Regions from separate parts of the Homo sapiens genome. Here regions 1, 2, 4, 5 and 6 are each linked to region 3. The links are contacts of gene promoters, found by promoter capture Hi-C in blood cells and fetal thymus (Javierre and others, 2016). All regions are on one chromosome and are shown on one strand. The core of a region is centred on a gene start or on the middle of the fragment in contact, and the rest is flanking DNA. Distances in the headings are between cores, read along the strand shown. Region 1 overlaps GART (phosphoribosylglycinamide formyltransferase, phosphoribosylglycinamide synthetase, phosphoribosylaminoimidazole synthetase). Region 2 overlaps LOC105377136 (a long non-coding RNA gene). Region 3 holds the start of IFNAR2 (interferon alpha and beta receptor subunit 2). Region 4 has its middle 13 kb from the start of EPCIP. Region 5 overlaps DONSON (DNA replication fork stabilization factor DONSON). Region 6 overlaps LOC105377136 (a long non-coding RNA gene).

Evidence for each region. Contacts are between HindIII fragments. The CHiCAGO score rates a contact against its expected background, and 5 or more counts as called.
Region 1: a contact is called between a fragment that was not itself captured here and the fragment with the promoter of IFNAR2 in region 3, in 1 of 17 cell types (neutrophils). The highest score is 5.1, in neutrophils.
Region 2: a fragment that was not itself captured here is called in contact with the fragment with the promoter of IFNAR2 in region 3 in 1 of 17 cell types (non-activated CD4 T cells); the score reaches 6.2 in non-activated CD4 T cells.
Region 4: a contact is called between a fragment that was not itself captured here and the fragment with the promoter of IFNAR2 in region 3, in 1 of 17 cell types (M1 macrophages). The highest score is 5.5, in M1 macrophages.
Region 5: a fragment that was not itself captured here is called in contact with the fragment with the promoter of IFNAR2 in region 3 in 1 of 17 cell types (total B cells); the score reaches 5.9 in total B cells.
Region 6: a contact is called between a fragment that was not itself captured here and the fragment with the promoter of IFNAR2 in region 3, in 1 of 17 cell types (non-activated CD4 T cells). The highest score is 5.5, in non-activated CD4 T cells.

What each region holds. Positions count from the first base shown.
Region 1 is chr21:33,513,669-33,517,144 of GRCh38, reverse strand. GART (phosphoribosylglycinamide formyltransferase, phosphoribosylglycinamide synthetase, phosphoribosylaminoimidazole synthetase) reads left to right here. Exons shown (of 22, transcript NM_000819.5): 16 at 4-156. Among named protein-coding and RNA genes, the nearest start is that of DNAJC28, 24 kb to the right of the region's middle. The HindIII fragment of the contact is 9,220 bases long and covers 1-3,476 here.
Region 2 is chr21:32,924,761-32,928,377 of GRCh38, reverse strand. LOC105377136 (a long non-coding RNA gene) reads right to left here. Exons shown (of 6, transcript XR_937669.3): 5 at 1,333-1,426. Among named protein-coding and RNA genes, the nearest start is that of LINC01690, 32 kb to the left of the region's middle. The HindIII fragment of the contact is 843 bases long and covers 1,042-1,884 here.
Region 3 is chr21:33,227,738-33,231,622 of GRCh38, reverse strand. IFNAR2 (interferon alpha and beta receptor subunit 2) reads right to left here and starts at 1,685. Exons shown (of 9, transcript NM_001289125.3): 1 at 1,407-1,685. IFNAR2-IL10RB (IFNAR2-IL10RB readthrough) reads right to left here and starts at 1,685. Exons shown (of 13, transcript NM_001414505.1): 1 at 1,407-1,685. RefSeq lists silencers at 1,219-1,268, 1,289-1,348, 1,409-1,868. The HindIII fragment of the contact is 6,332 bases long and covers 1-3,885 here.
Region 4 is chr21:32,825,111-32,828,565 of GRCh38, reverse strand. No RefSeq gene overlaps it. Among named protein-coding and RNA genes, the nearest start is that of EPCIP, 13 kb to the right of the region's middle. The HindIII fragment of the contact is 3,431 bases long and covers 1-3,167 here.
Region 5 is chr21:33,580,021-33,583,526 of GRCh38, reverse strand. It overlaps DONSON (DNA replication fork stabilization factor DONSON), which reads left to right. Exons shown (of 10, transcript NM_017613.4): 5 at 1-39; 6 at 1,281-1,362; 7 at 1,472-1,576; 8 at 2,027-2,225. Among named protein-coding and RNA genes, the nearest start is that of DONSON, 6.9 kb to the left of the region's middle. The HindIII fragment of the contact is 198 bases long and covers 1,152-1,349 here.
Region 6 is chr21:32,907,887-32,911,570 of GRCh38, reverse strand. The region is part of intron 4 of LOC105377136 (a long non-coding RNA gene); the gene reads right to left. Among named protein-coding and RNA genes, the nearest start is that of LINC01690, 49 kb to the left of the region's middle. The HindIII fragment of the contact is 1,712 bases long and covers 841-2,552 here.

The sequences.
Region 1 (3,476 bases), core at 114-2,613, 290 kb before region 3:
CAGGGGACTTACTTCTCACGCCTACCAGAATCTACAGCCATTCACTGTTACCTGTCCTACGTTCAGGACATGTCAAAGCCTTTGCCCATATTACTGGTGGAGGATTACTAGAGAACATCCCCAGAGTCCTCCCTGAGAAACTTGGGGTAGATTTAGGTAAGATCACTAAAACGAACTTCTGTTCAGAAAATTGCTGAGGAAAAAAATGCATTGTGCGAGAAAACTATGGGTAGTTAATGTACACATGATTACACATGGAAAATTCTTAATCATTGGGGGTTTTGGGAGGGAAAAACTCGACCCTTTTCTATCTCTTTTTGCTTCATTATCTGTATTTATAAGACATAAAATATTGTCATGTAATTGGCTTACATAAAGTTGAAGTACTCGATAAGTAGGTCCTCCAAGGGGATTGGTAACTTCAAGCTCTATTAAGATGGAGCCCTACACACCAGGAAAGGAAATGTTAGCTATTAAGTAATCCATATTCGAGATAAAAGGACCTAAACCAAGGCATAGAGAAGGGAGGCACATTGGAGAATCATTTTATGCTTAGAAGTAAAAAGAAGTCTCAGGTTTCTAGTTAAGCAGGTGAGTAGGCGGTAACATCATTAACATAGGAAGAAGAGTAAGTTTGGAATAGAAGGTTTTTAAATCTTCAGTGTGTTTATTCCAAGGTGACTGTGAGCAGAAGTTGAAGTCATGCTGAAGATAAATTGGGTGATTATTTGCACGTAGTAATAGTTATAGCCAAGAGAATGAGGGAGACCAAAAGGTTGTTTCTCAAAGTAGAGTGACTGAAAAGAACAGTCCAAAGTAGTGGGTAAACCATGTAAAAGTATTATCATCAAACCAACATGGGATTTTTTTCTTTTCTTTTTTTTTTTTTTTTTTTTTTAGACAGAGTCTCACTCTGTAGCCCAGGCTGGAGTATAGTGGCGCAATCTCAGCTCACTGCAAACTCTGCCTCCTGGGTTCAAGCGATTATCCTGCCTCAGCCTCCCAAGTAGCTAGGATTACAGGCACCCGCCACCATGCCCGGCTAATTTTTGTATTTTTAGTAGAGACAGGGTTTCACCTTGTTGGCCAGGCTGGTTTCGAATTCCTGACCTCAAGTGATCCGCCCGCCTCAGCCTCCCAAAGTACTGGGATTACAGGCATGAGCCACCGCGCCCGGCCCCAAGGTAGGATTTTAACGTGACACTGGTCCGCAGTGTCAGGTACAGCACAAAGATCTAGAATAAGCACTAGAAAAAGACCAGTGTATTTTAGAGTTAGGTCAAAAGTCAGTTTGCTGGACATAGATACCACCCACTAGATTGTTGTGGCAGAGTTGTGGAGACAGTGGGTAGAGATTTCTGTTTGAAGAAACATACTGGTAAAAGGGAAGTGGAATAATTTTATGCATGCAGCAAAAGTGAGGGACAGAGTCCTCCCTCCCTGTGTTCTTTTTTGTTTTTTGTTTTTCGTTTTTTTTTTTTTTTTTTTTTTTGAGTTGGAGTCTTGCTCTGTCGCCAGGCTGGAGTCGCCAGACTGGAGTGCAGTGGCGCAATCGCAGCTCACTGCAACCTCCGCCTCCTGGATTCAACTGATTCTCCTGCCTCAGCCTCCCAAGTAGCTGGGACTACAGGTGCCCGCCACCATGCCCGGCTAATTTTTGTATTTTTAGTAGACACGGGGTTTCACCGTGTTGGCCAGGATGGTCTCAATCTCTTGACCTCATGATCCACCCGCCTTGGCCTCCCAAAGTGCTGGGATTACAGGCATGAGCCACTGTGCCCAGCCCCTCCCTTCCTTGTTTTTGTAAAATAAAGTCAGAGAAACTTTTCCAGCTATAGTCAACTAATACACATTGATTTGAAGGAGTAGAAACTGAGGGAGTTTACATAAAATAACTTCTCTGTGAAGTATTAGTGAGATGATCAGGCCTGGGGTGGGAGCTTGAAGAGAGGAGTGGATAAAGCAGTCAAGGTCAAACAGGAGTGAGACAGTGAGCAGGACTGAAGGCACAGGTGAAGGTGAAGCTGCTCATGTAGTTTTTCTCCCAGAGCAAAAGCATGTATATAGCTTTGAAGCAAGAACAGAAAAAAAATAGATTAGTTAGGTTGATCCAGCTGAACTAAGCAGGTATTGGGGTCATTCATTGGGGAGAAGCAGTCAGAGTGATAGAGGTGAGTAGATATGGTGAGCTAACCCAAGAGTCAGAGCGTATGTGAAGCTCGGAGAGAACTGAAGAGTCAGAGGTAGGTTGTGTGGAAGTGAGGAAATCGGCAAGGGAAGCTGGGAGAGTGGTCAGATGGGATTTCAGCCTAGTCAGGGAAGCAAAACAGACAGGCCAGGCTAGGCTGAGTGGGAGTCTCTTCCAGGTCCATGGACTGAGCATATTAAGGAGTTGAAGGATTCATAGGAGGGTGAAACTAGTGGTTCAAGACATTCCTTGGGTAGAAATGCTTTCTGGTGAGCATATATAAGAACCTTAATAAGTAGTTCATTCATCATCCTTTTCAAATAGTTAAAAAACAGTGGCCTGCTGATGAATGGGGAAAGGAGGCAGGACTGATTTGTGCATTTGCCAGTTTTTGTGGTATAAATACTCCCATCATAGCTGCTTTAAAAATGGCTGTTTAACAGTCTCTACAAGCTGGCTCTAGCACACCACTAGTTAAAAACAACATAGTAGTCACCTCATTAAGAAACTGAAAGTGATATAGCCATATTCCTGAAAGCAGTTATAGTTTGAGTTACACAAATGTCTGTATTCCAATAAAAGCCATTGCACAATTCCTTGCATCAGCCTCTAAAGTTTCTTCCAGGAATCATACTTTGACAACAGATTTAAGTAAGGACTTCTGGGGGTTTTTTTGTTTGTTTTTTATTGAGACAGAGTATCACTCTGTCGCCCCAACTGGAGTTCCGTGGTGCGATCACAGCTCACTATTGCCCCAACGTCCTGGGTTCAAGTGATTCTCCGACCTCAGCCTCCTAAGTAGCTGGGACCACAGGTAACACGCCACCACACTTAGCTATTTTTTGTATTTTTAGTAGAGACGGGGTTTCACCACATTGCCCAGGCTGATCTTAAACTCCTTGGCTCAGAGCAATCTGCCCATCTCAGCCTCCCAAAGCGCTGGGATTACTGGCATGAGCTACCACACCTGGCCAGGACTTTTCAACATTAAAATTACAACTTACATTATTCATGAAGTACTTGTTCATTTATAGAAGCTAGACTCTTAGTCTGCCAGTGTTTTTTCCTATAAATATTTTGTAAAACTTCACTAAAACAAGATCATAATTTGGTAATCTGCTACTTGCCCTGCCATTAAATATGTCATCACTATCTCCTTGTCTTAGTAGCATCATTTTTGATAACAAGTATTCCATTTTACAGATGTACCACTATTTAGTTTTAAGTTGCTATTTACTTTTAACTATTGAGAGCATAGTGAACAATGTAGTTACTAAATCTGAGGTCA
Region 2 (3,617 bases), core at 214-2,713, 300 kb after region 3:
GTGGGAGACTGAGGCAAGAGGATTGCTTGAGCCCAGGAGGTCGAGGCTACAGTGAGCTGTGATTGTACCACTGCACTCCAACCTGGGCCCTGTCTCCGAAAAAAAAAAAAAAAAGAAAGAAAGAAAGAAAGAAAAGAAAAAGAAAAACCAACTCATTTGACTTTACAAGCTAATTTCCATGAAGACAGGACACATGGGGCAGTTTGAGTTTGTGTTAATCTCTTATTCATATACTTGTCTACTTGTCAAACTTGTATTGAAATCTAGATAACACCCTGATTAGATTTAATGTGTGTCAGGGTGGGTGGGGGGAGATGGTACAAGAAATAGAGACACAACGTTAGAAAGAGGCATTGAGAAGCAAGCGCTCGGTGTTTGTTGCGTAAATTCTCATAGCGGGTGGTGACGTGATAAATCTGAATAATTTTTATATATAGTAACAAAGCAACTTGGTAGTTTCATGAAACAAATTGTCCTGTACTGAGGAGGGACCTAGAATAGAGGCAGACTCTAGCACTTAGGGTGGACCAACCCAGAACTGTTCCATTGCCAAATAGTAGCCTGCTGGTCCCTGGAAGTGATTTTTAGTTAATTCTCATTCTGCTATACTACTCTATAATTTTGACCATTGATCTCTTCCTTTTATTAAAATTTTTTAAAATGAAAGTTGTAAATCCACAGAGTTTAGGGTTAGATTGTTTGTGGGTATTTTTGGCTTGTTTGTTTGTTTGTTTGAGGCAGGGTCTCTCTCTGTTGCCCAGAGCTGGAGTGCAGTGACATGATCCCGATTCACTGCAGCCTCACTGTCCCAGGCTCAAACAATCCTTCCATCCCAGCCTCCCAAGTAGCTGGGACTACAGGCATGCACCACCATGTCCTGCTAGTTTTTTTTTTTATTATTATTTTTTGTAGAGATGGGGGCTCACTATGCTGCCAAGGCCAGTCTCAAACTCCCGGCTCAGCAATCCTCCTGCCTCAGCCTCCCAAAACTTTGGGATTACAGGCGTGAGTCACCATGCCCAGGAAGATAGATTTAAAGCTTATGATAGAGAGCAGTTCCTCAACTCTCCATTTTCCCTCTGCCATTTTCTAATTCTAAAGCAATCACTTTCATTTTAATGGATTCTTTTGATATTTACATCCATATATCTATAATAACATGACTTCATTACTATTTCTTGGTGTTTTCATCTTATGCATTGAACATTGACTTCCTCTACAGATAAAAAAGGATTTTACTGTTTCACATAACATACAACATATACACACAAGAGCATGCACAAGTGCTTGTGGGCGCACACACACACATACACACACACACACACCCCTTACCTCCATTCTTCCTCTATAGTTTCACTGAAATTCTGCAGATTCATATTCGATGCTCTTCAAGTAAATTAAAGTGGAGGTCAGGCCTGAAGAATCTCTGAGCAGACAAAACAAGTTAGGCCTCTTAAGTGACCTAAACCTTGCTTGATTGCAAACATAAGCAAAACTTAACTTCAGATTTTTCTTGCAAATGCCTGTATTAAAGAAAAACATAATTTAAGCCCAAACAATCAGAAGTAGCCAAAAACTTGTAATTATTTAATTAGGGATTTTCCAGTGGGACTGATATGGTTTGGATATTTGTCCCCACCGAAATCTCATGTTGAAATGTAATTCCCAGTGCTGGAGGTGGGGCTTGGTGGGAGGTATTGGATCATGAGGGCGAATCCTTCATGAATAGCCATCCCCTTGGTGATGAGTGAGTTCTCACTATAAGTTCACGTGAACTCTGGTTGTTGAAAAGTGTGTGCACCTGCCCTCCTCCCCCGCCGCCATGCCTGCTCTTGTCATATGACTTACTGGCTTCCTCTTCACCTTCCGCCACCAGTGGAAGCTTCCTGAGGCCTCACCAGAAGCAGATGTCAGTACAACACTTCCTGTGCAGCCTGCAGAACCATGAGCCAATTAAACCTCTTTTCTTTATAAATTACCCAGCTTCAAGTATTTCTTTATAGCAATGCAAGAATGGACTAACGGACATAGACCAAATAAGGCAACTGGATAACTATATCCAATCAAATTTTTCTTTGCTTTACTTCTGTATCTGTCCTATAAAAGTCTCCTGCTTTGTGGTCTGTTGGTGGAGCTCTTGAATACTCCTCGTTTGGAGCTGTCTGATTAATGAATCATTGTTTGCTCAAATATATTCTTTAAAGTTGTGCTTCAATTTATTTTATTTTTCTTTTAGAGACAGGATCTTGCTCTGTCACCCAGACTAGAGTACAGTGGCACGATTATAGCTCACTGAATTCTTAATGTCCTGGGCTCAAAGGATCCTCCTGCCTCAGCCTCCCAAGTAGCTGGACTACAGGTGTGCACCGCAACTCCTGGCTAATTAAAAAAAGGTTTTTGTATAGTCAGGGTCTCGCTATGTTGCCCAGGCTGGTCTCAAATTCCTGGCCTCAAGTGATCCTTCCACCTTGGCTTCCCAAAGTACTGAAATTACAGGGGTAAGCTGGAGCAACCAGCTTCAATTTACTTTTTAACAATGTTTACATTGTTATAATTCTTTAAATACTGTGAATCACTGAACCATAAATACTACATTTATTTTTCCATTTCTGAACAACTTATGCTTTTCCTGAGGTTAAAAATTCCCTTTTTTACCTGACTTACTTTCTCTAATCCATATAGGTAGATATTTTGTTTTTTATAAACAAAGACAATTTTTTTTGTTTGTTTTAATCATTTGTCCCCAAACTGTGCCCTCCTCTCAATTTGTTCAAGCACAATAATTCCATCTTTTTGAAGCAGTCTCTTCTGGAACCTTCTGGATTGTTGTCCTATAAGTCTACTATGCAGTTATTATATTAGTGCAGATTTCCTTCACCTCCCTTCTATGATGGAGTCTCTGTTTCCTGGACCATACATCTTCCTCTTTTAAAATTTTACTCCTTTTTTATTTAAAAAAAAAAAACTTCCAATAGCTTTAGTATAAGGCCTGGAATGTCTGAAAACCTATTTTTTATACCCTTACATTTGATTAATAGTTTTGCTGGGTATAAAATTCTGCCTTTAGAAATATTTTTTCTTCAAATAGTGAAATATTTCTCTGTTGTCTTCCACCATATTGCTTTGGAGAAGTCCAATGACATTCTGATTGTTGATCCTTTGTATAAAGCATGTTATCTTTTTTCTCTCTGGAAACATGTAGGATCTTCTCTTTATTCTCATCATGATGAAATTTCACAATGATTTGTCTCAGTGAATAAATTTTCATCCATCCATAGTGCTAGGTACAATTGTGAAACTTGATACCTTGGGAACTTGATTCAGGAACTTGATACCTGGGAAGTTTTCATGAATTGCTTCTTTGGAAAATTGCCTTCCATTGTCTCTAAATCTACTTTCCATATTTGGATGTTTGACATTCTGGTGTGGTTCTATAAATTCATTATTTCTTCTCTCCTATTTTCCGTGTTTTTACTCTATATCCTGAGAGATTTTCTTAACTTTTTTACTTCTCCTGTTTCCAAGCACTTTTGTTTGTTCTCTGAATGTTTGTTTAAAATTAGTATCTTACACAAGCAACAAAAGCAAAAATAGACAAATGGATTGCATCAAACTAA
Region 3 (3,885 bases), core at 436-2,935:
GTGTGCAAGTGTGAGCCATGGAATATATATTTTAATAAATGTTTCACGTCTATGACAGTACCTCTAGGGTTATGATCCTTTTCATACTACTTTTTGAAATGACTTTTAGACAAATCACCATTGTCAAATTATGTGAACCAAAATCAGATTTTCTTTAACTTTTCAATAAATACATGAGAAACTTTAGAGGAAATAATAGGTAAGAAAAATGAGTCATGTACATTTTTGATTATCTAAAATTGTGGAAAACAACTTTATGAACAATAGAACTTACAAGTTCAAGTCATTTTCTGCGACAAACAGATCAAGCCTTATCAGCTATGCCCTAATTGCTAGGAGTGTTTATCGAATATTTTCCTTAGGGTAGATTTTGATAGAGTATCTGCTACCCCCTCACCCCCTCAAGCCTGCACAGGTGGATAGGGGGTGGGTGGACAGGATACTGAGAAACCTTGGCAAGCAGTGGGACTTAGCCCCTGGGCCAGTGAGCACACATGGGAAACTCCACCTCTCCCTGAGCCAGCTCCGGCACTTCTCACCACTGAATCAACGCCCAAGCATGCTATATTCGTTTCTAAGACTTCTTGCTAAACAAAACAAGGAAATAAAAAAAAAAATGTTAAAAGAAAGGAGGTGGGAATACTCAGAGTCAATATAACCATCGCTAACCAAATAAACGGGCTGATGGAGTCAACTCGCTACTGCGTGTAACGGATTGATTTGCTCAGGGTTGAAATGCAAGTGCCGATCGCCTCTCCATATTCGCGGAGTATCTTCCCAGTATCTCCCCTCTCCGACCCTGGGAGGGTGCACCCTTCTGTCTCCGCGGCCACGTCCCCTCGCCCCTTCCCCCTCCTGCCTCCACGCAGCGGATCCGGAGGGGTGTAGGCCGCTCCAGCCCCGGCTGCAGTCTGTGACCCTGACGCAGGTCGAGGGGGGCTAATCCCAGGGGACCTCAAGGGGGCGGGCTGGAGATCCCGAACCTGAGCACCCAGCTGGTGAGCCGGTTTTGCAAGGCGGGGTGGACCTGGAGGAATGTGACCCTCAAACTTAGCAACGACTCACATCTTGCAGTGGCAAATGCCCGGTATCCTGGGCATCCTTGGTGGGGTGGGGTGGGACGCGGAGGGGTGCAACGAAAGCGGACTCCCAGCAGGGGCGACGCGTGGAGGGCGCAGGACAGGGCCCGGGAGGGGTCCTGGGGTCGCAGGTGCGGCCCCGGGAGAGAGGAAGGGCGCACTAGCCGCATACTCAAGACGCAGAGGGAGGGCAGGAGGAGGAGGAGGAGTCGGGGAGAGCGAGAGGGAACCGGAGGGGATTCCGGGAACCGCTGCAGGGAGGCGGCGTTTTCCCTCCAGTCAGCTGGCCACGCGCTCCGCTCCCGCGACCCCGCCACGCTGCGTTACCTTTGCAGCTCTCGCCTTGCGGCTCCCGAGAGATGCTAGCCTCGGGCCCCAGCCGCGCCCGGCTCTGGGACCCGACGCTCGCGGTCAGGATGCGCCTCGCGGGCGGCCTCTCGGACAGAAGCGGCGGGCGGGGGACAAAAGCGGCCCGTGCGGCCGGGTGGTGGTCCGCGGGCTGCGCTCGGGGAACTGTTCGGCTCGCCGGCGGGATTCCTACCCGCCGGGAAGAAGCGTCTTTAGTGCGGGTGCGCGCGCCGAGCCCCGGCCTACGAGGAGCGATACGGAAGCGCGGGCGCCGCGCCGCCGCCGGCGCGGGGGCGGGGGCGGAGCCAGGGGCGGGGCCGGAGCCAGGGGCGGGTCCTGGGCCGCTGGCGGGGCTGGAGCAGGGCCGGAGGCGGAGGCCGGGCCGGGGGCTGGGCAGGAGAATAGAAAAAAGGTCCGGTCATTTACAATCGTCTGCTGCCGATTGTCAGCTCCTAACCAATCCCGCCTTCGCCGAGAAAGCTCCATAGGGGAAGAATTTGGGACTGTTTTGTTTACTGAAGTATCCTTAGGGGTTAGAATAGTGCCTGGCATTTAGAAGACACCCAAAGATGTGTTGACTGACTGAATGAATGAATGAACTAAAGAGTGAATGGGTTCTCTCCTGGCTCCCCCACTTGTTAATTGTATAAACCTGCATGATATAATTCTCCAACTAGTAAAACGAGGATAAAAATACCTACCATTGAGTAAATGTTGTAAATATCTACAACATTATCCGTTGTAGATTCTCCCCTCTTCTCCGCGGGTCTCTTCTCCATACTCCTACCCTTCCCTCGACCCCCCACTGATCAACGTGTTTCGGGATAGGCAGAAAGACAGATGTTCTTCATTAATTTGTCTGCTTGTTATTTATAGCCTGTCAACTTCTAAAATAGACTATGAGGCCGGGAGCGGTGGCTCACACCTGTTATCTCAGCACTTTGGGAGGCCAAGGCAGATGGACCATCTGAGGTCAGGACTTCAAGACCCAGCCTGACCAACATGGTGAAACCCTGTCTGTACTAAAAATACAAAAATTAGCTGGGCGTGGTGGCGGGCGCCTGTAATCCCAGTTACTTGGGAGCCTGAGGCAGGAGAATTGCTTGAACCTGGGAGGTGGAGGTTGCAGTGAGTTGAGATTGCACCATTGCACTCCAGCCTGGGAGACAAGAGCGAAACTCTGTCTCAAGAAAAACGAAAAAAAAAAGAAAATCCAAAACCAAAATAGACTATGAGGCAGCTTTCAAGTAAAATGTATGTATATTCTAAACATTACAGCTACTAAAATGGAAATGTTAATATCTTTTTGAAGGAGAGGGAAAAGATACACTAACCACCTAAATTGTTTTAACTGAGTATTTAATCTCTCGTTCAGCTTTCTGGCCTCCTAGGAAAGGGAGGAGGAGGATGTTTCATACTTTTTGTAGATGGGAAAAATGAGCCTTTTAATCTATGAAGTCAACCAACATTTGCTGATACTCCTTTAAGGCTAGGCACAAGGGTGATCATAAAGAGGATGTCACGGTCCTGCCTCTTATGTGACCCTTGGCAGAATTCCCACCAGCCCCATACGATCTGAAGGGAACTTATCTAGGATCCTATTTCTTATAAAAGACATTCAACATTGAAAATATTTTCAGCCACAGTTTTAGAGAATTTGCAGAAATAGCCTCTGAAAATGGGAGAAATCCAATACCAAACTCCATGTGCTGCATGCACTCTTTTATATAAACATATATATTAAAAATAAAACTATGTCAAAACCTTAACTATGACTTATTGCAGATTGGATGATAGTAGGTGATTTTTATTTTGTTTCCTTTCCAAACATTCTACAGTAAACATCCTTACTTATATAATTAGGAAAAAGATTTTTTAAAAAACAAATGCAGTCCTGGCTAACACGGTGAAACCCCGTCTCTACTAAAAATACCAAAAAAAAAAAAAAAAAAAAAAAAAAATTAGCCAGGTGTGGTGGCGGGCGCCTGTAGCCCCAGCTACTCAGGAGGCTGAGGCGAGAGAATGGCGTTAACCCAGGAGGTGGAGCTTGCCGTGAGCCAAGATTGCGCTACCGCACTCCAGCCTGGGCGACAGAGCGAGACTCCGTCTCAAAACAAGCAAACAAACAAAAAACAAAACAAAACAAAAGCAAATGCAGTCTATGCCAAGGTGTGAAGAGCTTGAAAGCTGTCACTCCACTCCCCACAACAAGAGAAAAGCTGAACAAATTGAAGATTAACAACTCTTCTTGTTTCAGTATCAGTGAATTGAGTCACAGGGCAAACTGCAAAAACTGAAAGACAGACAAATGCAAAGAATCACAGTTTACAGGGACCAGAAGCCTCTGAAATCATAGCAAAACTTAAATTGTAATTGACTAATTGCTGGAGACTGAGTGTGGACTAGCTTGAGAATTAAACACTGTTGGGTACTCAGTCTTAGAGGGATGCTCCCCAAA
Region 4 (3,455 bases), core at 203-2,702, 400 kb after region 3:
GGGTTTTTGTTGTTTTATGAGTAGTACTGGTAGTTGTTATAAGGGACAGATACTTTCCAGTTGGAAGATATATGTTTTTAAAAGTTCAGAAAGTCTAGTAATTAAGGGAAGAAATGGATAATCAATATTGAAAGATAGCAAAAAAGAAAAATATAATAAAGAAAGGACAAATTAAGAATTTGTGAGCCCCTCATGTAAAAAACCAGACTAATGTAAATAAGCTGAATTACTCTATTAATCATTTAATCTGTGTATGTCTCCCCCACTGACCCCCAAGCTGTCCCTAACCAAGAATACCATGGGATTGTGTTCTTGTCTGCTTTCTTCCTGCTGTACTTCCACATTCTGAAATGCATTCCACAGGCAGGTGCATCTTGGGTTTCCAATAAAAATCAACCGACCAAGGGGGCGGAATCTCCAGGCTTGAACCCTCAAATACAGACAGGATTATGTGTTCTTTTTCTATTGGGAGGCATAGTTTTCTGGTAGGATACTGGCAAATCAGAAACAGCAAAACAGAGTCTTCTCAGGAGTTCAATAGACTTTGCAGCAAGACTCTTTTATATGCTCAAAATTTAAAATCATTCATGCACTTCTTCATTTTTAAAAAATAGTCTTTTAAGTTTATAGTATTTTCTTATGTTTTTCCAATATTGAAAAACTGCAATGTACAGTATTCTTATTCTCCTGCCAAAACAAATAGCATATTATTGCAGCTGTAACATTTTATGTCTTTGCCACAATAACTGTGGTTTTCCGCAGTAATTTTGCTATTATGCTATGATTTTTATTAGAAAATGTATTACTGCCATCTTAATTTTCTTAGCCAGTTTAACACATTTATGGCTTTTCTGCTTTGGCAAAGTGGTATTTCAAATACTGAAGAATAACTTTTTTAAATTCTATAAATCCTGGATGAAATTTAAACCATAAATTTCATTTCTGAATAATCAAATCAGAACATTACTGCAACTGTGTCATCGCCTAAAGCCAGTAATATTCCATGAGTTTGTAATAACATTATTTTGAGCAAGTCACACAAGGGGTAGTTTAGTGATCTGAAATGTCCAGGGTTTGCTATTTTTTCCCCAATAGTCCTTTTTTTTTTTTCTAAGATGGAGTCTCACTCTGTTTCCCAGGCTGAAGTGCAGTGGCATGATCTCAGCTCACTGCAAACTTCGCCTCCCGGGTTCAAGCTATTCTCCTGCCTCAGCCTCCCAAGTAGCTGGGATTACAGGCTCCTGCCACCACACGCAGCTAATTTATGTATTTTTAGTAGAAGACGGGTTTTCACCATGTTGACCAGGCTGGTCTTGAACTCCTGACCTCATGATCTGCCCTCCTCAGCCTCCCAAAGTGCTGGGAGGCGCAAAGTGCAGGCGTGAGCCACCATGCCCAGCCTCTTCCCCAATATTCTTGAAGAGATTTATAACAACACCGAATCTCAGATTTGATGGCTACCTGTTGAGAGAAATCAAGGAATGAGGAAGAATTTGAATGAGGAATGCAGGTGGCCTTTCTCGCCATCCTTTTGCCTAGTGGCCCCCTTTTTCACCAAGACAAGAGGCTGGTTTTTGTTTCTGGTTTTATCACATCAGACTCTGGCTCATAGCAAAAGCAGTCAGTCTCCTGTTGCTGCTTCATGGATAGCGCCTCTAACAGGCATTAATTTTTTGTTGTTGTCGTTATGGAGGAGTGTCAGCATACACTCTAATAGAACAGTCTGGAAAGACAAGTGTTGTTGGTAAACCCTAGGGACGTGAGAATCAAGTGTCACCAGTAGGTGGAGGACTTGATCAGAAATACACATGCCTTGGGGCCTATACGGAGTTGCCTGCTCAGCTATGGTTTGAAGCAGAATCTGAGGGGATGCTCATGGTCCAGTTTGGCAAATATCAGGGTGTGGTTATTTAGATGAGGCACAAGACTAACTGGAAGTGTGGGACATAAGTGAAAGATGGCACCAGGAGGTTGAAACTGTCCCTTAAACTGAGTCCTACAGGCACCCTCCCTTGGGTGACGGAGCCCCAGTTATTCCTGTGCACCCTCATAGTCTTCTGAGCCAGGGCCCTCTCCCCAGCTAGGTGGCTGATGCCCCAGAACACACCGTATGTGAAACTGTCAGTGGATTCCAGGCACCCGTCCTTTAGTAGGCAGCTAGCAGATCCCCAGCTTAGCAGAAGGCACAGGTTTGGTGGAGACTCAGAAACTAAGCCCAGCAAGTTCCCTCATCAGTGGCTCTCCACCTGGATACATAAACAACTTTTACAATGGTTGTTTAAATAACAGAGCTAGTTCGTCGCCCAGATCTCCTGTGTGTCCTCTCCGTCTTTTTTTTTTTTTTTTTTTTTTTTTGAGACGGAGTCTCGCTCTGTTGCCCAGACTGGAGTGCAGTGGCACGATCTCGGCTCACTGCAAGCTCCGCCTCCCGGGTTCACGCCATTCTCCTGCCTCAGCCTCCCGAGTAGCTGGGACTATAGGCGCCCACCACCATGCCCAGCTAATTTTTTGTATTTTTATTAGAGACAGGGTTTCACCGTGTTAGTCAGGATGGTCTCGATCTCCTGACCTCGTGATCCGCCCGCCTCGGCCTCCCAAAGTGTTGGGATTACAGGCGTGAGCCACCGCGCCCAGCCTCCTCTCCCTCTTAGACATATATTTTGCACACTGAGCTATTTGCACAATCAGGATTAACAAGCAAATAGCTGATGGAGGAAGGGTGAATTGGCTCTCTCTGCTTCAGCTGGGACATCCGTCTTCTTCTGCCCTTGGACATCAGCTCTCCAGCTTCTCGGGTCTTTGGGCTCAGACTTAGACTCACATCATTGGTTCCTCTGGGTCTCAGGCTTTTGGGCTGGGACTGAAACTATACCACTGGCTTTCCTGGACCTTCAACTTCCAAATGGCAGATGGAGGGACTTCTCAGCCTCCACAATTATGTGAGCTAATCCCTCATAATAAATCCCTTTCTTTACATCTATATATAGCCTATCAGTTCTGTTTATCTAATACATTTCCTTTCTGATTTCTTCAATTACTTCTTCTTTACAGCTTTAATGAGACATAATTCAAATACTACACAATTCACCCATGTAAAGTGCAAACTTCGTTGGTTTTAGTGTATTCACAGAATTGTGTAACCATCACCACAATCAATTTTAGAAGCTTTTCATCACCCCAAAAATAAACCCATGCCCATTAGCAGTCATTCCCCATTTCATCTCACCTCCAGCCCTAGGAAATCACCAATCTATTTTCTGTCTCTATGGATTTTCCTATTCTGGACATTTCATATAAATGAAATCATACCATATGTGGTGCTTTCACACTGGCATTTTGCACTTAGATAATGTTTCAAGGTTTATCCATGTGGCAGTATGTATCAGTACATCATTCTTTTTCGGTGCTGAATAATATTCCATTGTGTGGATATACCACATTTTATTTATCTATTC
Region 5 (3,506 bases), core at 1-2,500, 350 kb before region 3:
CAACAACTCGAGGTTTAAGAGAAGCTATGAGAAATGAAGGTAAAAGTTTAGGTTTAAAGTGAGAATACTATACTATATAGTAAACCTATTTTGGCCTAAAAGCTATTTAAATTTAAAATGCCTTTTACCAGTTGATTAGCAACATTAAGAAATATATTATTTCTTTATTTCTGGCTTTTTTTCCCTCCCCCACAATTATTTAATCCAGCAGTCCGCAAACTTTTTGGCACTAGGGATCAGTTTCATGGGCAGTGAGGAGGATGGTTTCGGGATGAAACTGTTACACATCAGATGATCATTCTTTTTTTTTTTTTTTTTTTTTTTTTGAGATGGAGACTCGCTCTGTCACCCAGGCTAGAATGCAGTGGTGCAATCTCGGCTCACTGCAAGCTCCGCCTCCTGGGTTCAGGCCATTCTCCTGCCTCAGCCTCCCGAGTAGCTGGGACTACAGGTGCCTGCAACCATGCCCGGCTAATTTTTTGTATTTTTAGTAGAGACGGGGTTTCACCGTGTTAGCCAGGACGATCTCGATCTCCTGACCTCGTGATCCGCCCGCCTCGGCCTCCCAAAGTGCTGGGCTTACAGGCGTGAGCCACCGCGCCCGGACAAGATCATCATTCTTATAAGGAGGGCACAACCTAGATGCCTCACATGCACAGTTCACAGTAGGATTCGTGCCCCTGTGAGAATCTAATGCGACCACTGATGTGACAGGAGATGGAGCTCAGGCAGTAATGTTCACTCGACAGTCGCTCACCTCCTGCTGTGCAGCCCGGTTTCTAACAGGCCACAGGCCAGTACCAGTCCACAGTCCAGGGGTTGGGGACTCCTGATTTAAACTGTTCCTTCCACATAGTGTTCTCTGATCTCTAAAATAAAACACATATTGGGCCAGATAGTCACTATCTGAATATACTCTTCTAGAAATTCTTCTATAGTACCAATTACCCCTTTAATAACAAAATTTTCAAACTGAGTAAACCCATTAGTGGATCATGAAATCTACTTAATGGGCCCAATCAGTACTTTTTCAAAAAGTGAACTGGAATACAATATGATTTATGAAAGAGTGTTACATGTATGTGTTGTTTCCCGAACCTCTTTCAAGGAGAATACGTTTTATGCATGTTTGTAGGTTTGTGAAGAAAGCTTGAAAACTCTACTGCCTTAATAGATCATTTGTAAAAACTAACATTTCAAATTTTTTACACTCTAAAAGTACAGCATGCCTGTTAAATACTTTAAATGACAACTCAGTTACATTTTTGTTCCTCATATAGGTATTGAATTTTCTCTGCCTTTAATAAAAGAAAGTGGCCATAAGAAGGAGACAGCATCTGGAACAAGCTTGGGATATGGGGAGTATGTGATTAAAATAACTTTATATCATCCACTGACTTATGGACTCATGAAATAGATTTGCACAGGAACAGCTTGTGAAATAGGGACTCTAACTGTAGCAATTTCCTAGGGAGCAAGCCATCAGTGATGAGGATGAAGAGGAAAGTTTTTCCTGGCTGGAAGAGATGGGTGTGCAAGATAAAATTAAAAAGCCAGACATACTTTCTATCAAGCTGTATCCTTTCAGTTGTTGTTAACTAGAATTAATTTTCATTGAATGACGTTAGTGAGAAGTTTAACATTGGCAGTTTTATATGATTATAATCTTAAATTATCTTCAGGTCATATTAAAACTAATTCTCCATTGTAATACTAAATAAGCCCCTAAGTATCAACAAATGGTGAACTATTAAACCTTTTTTAATCAAAACGTTCAATTATGATTGTGGGAGAATAGGTGTGTTTTGACTAGAGAAGAAATTAGGTTTAGGTGTCAGTTTGTAGCAAATTCAGATTGTTAACATTTTGATTGAAACATATGCCTTATGATTCGGTAAAGAGAGGTAGCAAGAGGATTTCCATTTCATTATGGAGAAAAGGAGTCTCAGGTGATTCAGAATCAAGATAACTGCTTTCCACATTAGGTGAGATTTGCTTTTGCAATTTCCTTGATTGTCATCTTCAGGCGTAAAGAGAAACATGAAGTACAAATGGATCACAGACCTGAATCTGTTGTGTTGGTAAAAGGAATCAACACCTTTACATTGCTCAATTTTTTGATTAACTCTAAGAGTTTAGTTGCTACCTCAGGTCCACAGGCAGGACTTCCTCCAACCCTCTTGTCCCCTGTTGCTTTCCGAGGTGCCACAATGCAAATGCTTAAGGTAATAAAAGTCTGCATAACCTAGCTTTTAAGAAGTACTTTACTTTGATAGGATAAATTCTTGATTTAAAAAAAAACCTCCTAGCATTTTTACTTGGTACATATTTTCATTTTGCTTTCCTCCCATTAAAAAAAGAAACAAAAATTATATAAGACAGTTATATCAAAGAAATTATGTGGAAATATATAAATTATATGAAATCCTTTTTATTTTCTTTTCGAGATGGAGTCTTGCGCTGCTATCCAGGCTGAATGGAGTGCAGTGGCGTGATCTCAACTCACTGCAACCCCTGCCTCCCGGGTTCAAGTGATTCTCGCGCCATGCCTCAGCCTCTTGAGTAGCTGGGATTACAAGCACACACCACCAAGCCTAGCTATTTTTTTTGTTTTTTTTTTTCTTGTTTGTTTTTGTTTGTTTGTTTTAAGAGGGAGTCCCACTCTGTCACCGGCTGCAGTGCAGTGGTGCGATCTCGGCTCACTGCAGCCTCCAACTCTGGGGTTCAAGCGATTCTTCTGCCTCAGCCTCTCGAGTAGCTGGGGTTACAGGTGGGCACCACCACGCCCAGCTAATTTTTGTATTTTTAGTATAGACGGAGTTTCACCATATTGGCCAGGCTGGTCTTGAACTCCTGGCCTCTTTTTAAATTATACGAACATTTATTTTCTTTTTTTGGTTGGGGAGACAGGGTCTTGCTGTAGTGCAGTGGCACAGCTCACTGCAGCCTCAACCATGTGGGCTCAAGTGAAATTCCTGCCTCAGCCTCTCGAGTATCGGACCACAGGACTGCCATGCCCTGCTTTTTTTTTTTTTTTTTTTTTTTTTTTTTTTTTTTTTTTTTGAGGTGGAATCTCACTCTCACCCAGGCGTGTGCCACCACGCCTGGCTAATTTTTTTTTTTTTTTGTATTTTTTGTAGAGACGGGTTTTCACCATGTTGGTCAGGGTGGTCTCGAACTCCTGACCTCATGATCTGCCCTCGGCCTCCCAAAGTGCTGGGATTACAGGCATGAGCCACTGCACCTGGCCGCCCTGCATTCATTCATTCATTCATTCATTCATTCATCTATCTATTTAGAGACGGAGTCTTGCTCTGTCACCCAGGCTGGAGAGCAGTGGCTCAATTTTGGCTCACTGCAAACTCTGCCTAACGGGCTCAAGCGATTCTTCAACCTCTGCCTCTGGGGCTCAGGTGATTCTTCTGCCTTAGCTTCCCAAGTAGCTGGGACTATAGGCTCACACCACCATGCCTGGCTAATTTTTTTGTATTTTTAATAGAGACGAG
Region 6 (3,684 bases), core at 447-2,946, 320 kb after region 3:
AAACCCTTTTAAAATTTTGCCATGTAATCCGCTAGCAAGAACAAGTTTTTAGACAAGCAAGAATTAGTTTGCAGCTCTCCAAGATTGTCCATCCACTTTGTATCTAAAGACTTATTTTGAAAAACCAGATGTTTCTCAGTGAGATTCTTTGTATCAATAAATTAGTTATATGAGTCAGTCATGTCCAAAACGGCCATCATTTTACCTAGTCTGAAGTACATTGGATGGCATTATAAGTTAAACCTTTGTTTCTCACAGAAAATGGTATTAAAGCACAGAGATAATTTTAAGTTTTAAAATCTTAAATTGGATTACAAATAAACTACCAATTTAGTAGAGAAATTAAGAAAGCTCTGTTGCCATTTTCTGTTTTTTATAGTTTTAAACCTGCTTTATTATTATTTTTTAAAGTATCACTTTTTAGAATGAATCTAAGCCTTATTGTCCTCATCTGCTAAGTCCTTTTTTTAGTGAGTTTTTTCACAATGTCCACATAACATCAAATAACTGAAGTCCAGTCTGCCCATCCTTTTCTATGCTCCTTATGGGCTCTTCAAATACCACCAAACAGTTTTGGAGAAAGAGCACATAAGTTCTGTCCTTGTCTCCATTATCAGCCTCAGTGTATTTCCAAATTAAACAGGGACATCCTTCTTATCCCAAACTTTGAAAATATTACTTTGCAATAGACCAACAATTTAATATTTTCTCTATGGCAGGCAATGATAATAGCCACCTTGTAGGCATGCGTCTAAGGAGACTACCTCCTACCATTTCTACAAAGTCAAAAGTCTCATTGTTTCTACACATTTTGAAAGAAATGAAAGCTGACCAAAAGCTTTCATTATGAAATCATCAATATCCCAGATAAGCAAATCACACCCCCTAAATATATGACAATTAGCAGATAAGAGTTTTCCATTTTCATTGGTAAGAAGTTTATAGACTGAAAATAATTTGCCAAAATTTACCTTTGCATTCTCAGTCATATCTGTAGGTAGATTAACAAAGTCTAGTTTTTATTTTTATTCTTTTTATGTATTTATATATATATATTTTGTAGTGATGGGGGGTGATATGGTTTGGCTGTGTCCCCACTCAAATCTCATCTTGAATTCCCATGTGCTGTGGGAGGGACCAGGTGGGAGGTAATTGAATCATGGGGACAGGTCTTTCCCATGCTGTTCTCATGATAGTGAATAAGTCTCATGAGATCTGATGGTTTTATAAAGGGGTGCTTCCCTGCACAAGCTCTTTTCTCTTGCCTGCTGCCCTGTAAGACATGCCTTTCACCTTCCACCATGATTGTGAGGCCTCCCCAGCAACGTGGAGTTGTAAGTTCATTAAACCTCTTTCTTTTGTAAATTGCCCAGTCTCAGGTATGTCTTTATCAGCAGCATGAAAACAGACTAATACAGGGGGTCTCACCATTTTGCCCAGGCTTGTCTTGAACTCCTGGCCTCAGGAAAGGTTCCCACTTCAGCCTCCCAAGGCACTGGGGTTAGAGATGTAAATGTCTAGTTTTTATTCAGATAAGGTATCAGTAATCTTTTGGTTTACATTTTCTGAGTTTATAAACTGAGTGCTGCAGAAACACTGTTTATATTCTGATAAGTGCTGTTTATATTCTGAGTTTATAAGAGCTTATAAACTCAGAGCTGCAGAAAGCATGATTGTGGGGAAGATAGGAAAAGATCAGTTCTACCATGTAAGGGACCAACACATCTCTTATTGTTTTTATTCATCTCTTTTGTTTGTTTGCAAGACATTTCAGTTGTAACCTCTGAATCAGGAAATATAGCCTTACTGAATCCTATAAAATGATCAAAAGAGTGATTTGATAAAGTGATTTGTGTGGTATGACTGAGCTAATGCAGCAGCTGCTATTTTTGACTGGACATTTTTTGGTAGACAACGTTTTTTGATTGACTTAGGGATATCGGTTTCATCTTAGAATTGTGAGATGTCGTCTCCACATGCACTTTCACATCCCCTTCTCCACTGTGCCTGGCTCAAAACTCTTTTCTGCATATTGAGCAGCGTGCTCTGTTTTGATTATTTACCTCTCTAATCTGGTTGTACATGTCCTTCCATATGTCATTAAGATAACACAGTTGGTTAGCCTTCTTTTCCAGTGATGCCTTGGTTTACGCCAGCATTGGTATTGTAATCACTATCTTTTTTAATTATCTGAACTCTTAGAAAATATGGCCACAATATTTACAACTGCTAAAAATTAAATGAGCACTATCTTGATACAAAGGACAACAGTTAGTTCACAGGTAAAGTCAAAGACAGACTCTTAATGCCTGTGATTGCAGTGTACTTGTGACGCACACTTAGTTGCAACCTTGGGAAAGTTGCAACCGTGGATGATCCACTATTCTGAATGACAAGTTGTGGTCCCCAACCTGAGCAGTCAGGGGAGAAACAGCAACAGGGGTTATGGAAGGTGGATCATCTGCACTGTACCCATTTACAGCCAAAACAGTATTGCATTCAGCCCCTATTTTTTGGGCCACCATATGGTTTTTACACATTTCCCCCAAGCTTCTGTGCATATCACCGAATTGATTTTCCAGGATTTAGGACTTTAACTGCTAAAACCAGGATAATCCCAGGCAATCTGAGACGATTGGTCACCCTACCAACGAGGAAAAATTGTAGTTTGGAGGGCAGGAGGAAAAGAAATTACAGCTCCCTCCCTAAGGAATTGATATAAGGCTGGCTTCATTCCTTGACCAAAGCACCCAGGACTTGTCACGTGGCTTTCTCTCTGTCTCCATGTTCCAGTAACTGCTCTTTCCCTCTGCACTTCAGGCCCAGGGACTGTAACAGAGCCCTGCTCTTACTAGCCCAAGAAACCTTCACTGTCCTTTGTGGTTTCTCTAGACCCTACCCACTCTTAACTCGTAAATAATAATTAAATAATTATTAAATGAATAATTATTTATTATTTATATTTTCATATATTTTCATTATAATTATACTATTTATATGTTATAATATATAAAATATTTCCATATATAGATAAAATATAATTATAAGTTATATAGTTATATTTGTTATAATTATATAAATATAACTATATAAATTAATTATATAAGTGTAATTAGGCAACTAATAATATAATTATATAATTAATAAGATAATAATTAAGTATATACATTATAAATAATGTATATAAATTTATAAATGCATACTTATAAATTATAAATATAATTAATTAATTTATATATCTTATAAATCTCATTTAAATTTTATATAATATGCAATTTATATATTAAATATTTTATACATCTATATATACAATATAATATAAAAATATATTTCTATAATTATTAATTATAATAAATATATTATATAATTTATATATTATACATTGTATATATTATTAATTATAATGAATAATTATTAAATTAACTGATAATTAAATAATTATAAAATACTATTTGTAAATAATTACTTTGTTAAAATTTTCTCAAATTACTCCCTATTAGTGGGCCATCTATTTGTTGCTAGGTCCCTGACTGATACAGTAATGGGTTCCAGGAGTAGCCCCAGGAAACAGACCCTCAGAACAGACTCTGAAGATTGAGATAGCCACGTGGTGTGCTGGAGCCAGCTATGACTGGCTTACAAGAGCTGACTGTGTACATCTCTTTCCAACTACGTGTTCAGTGA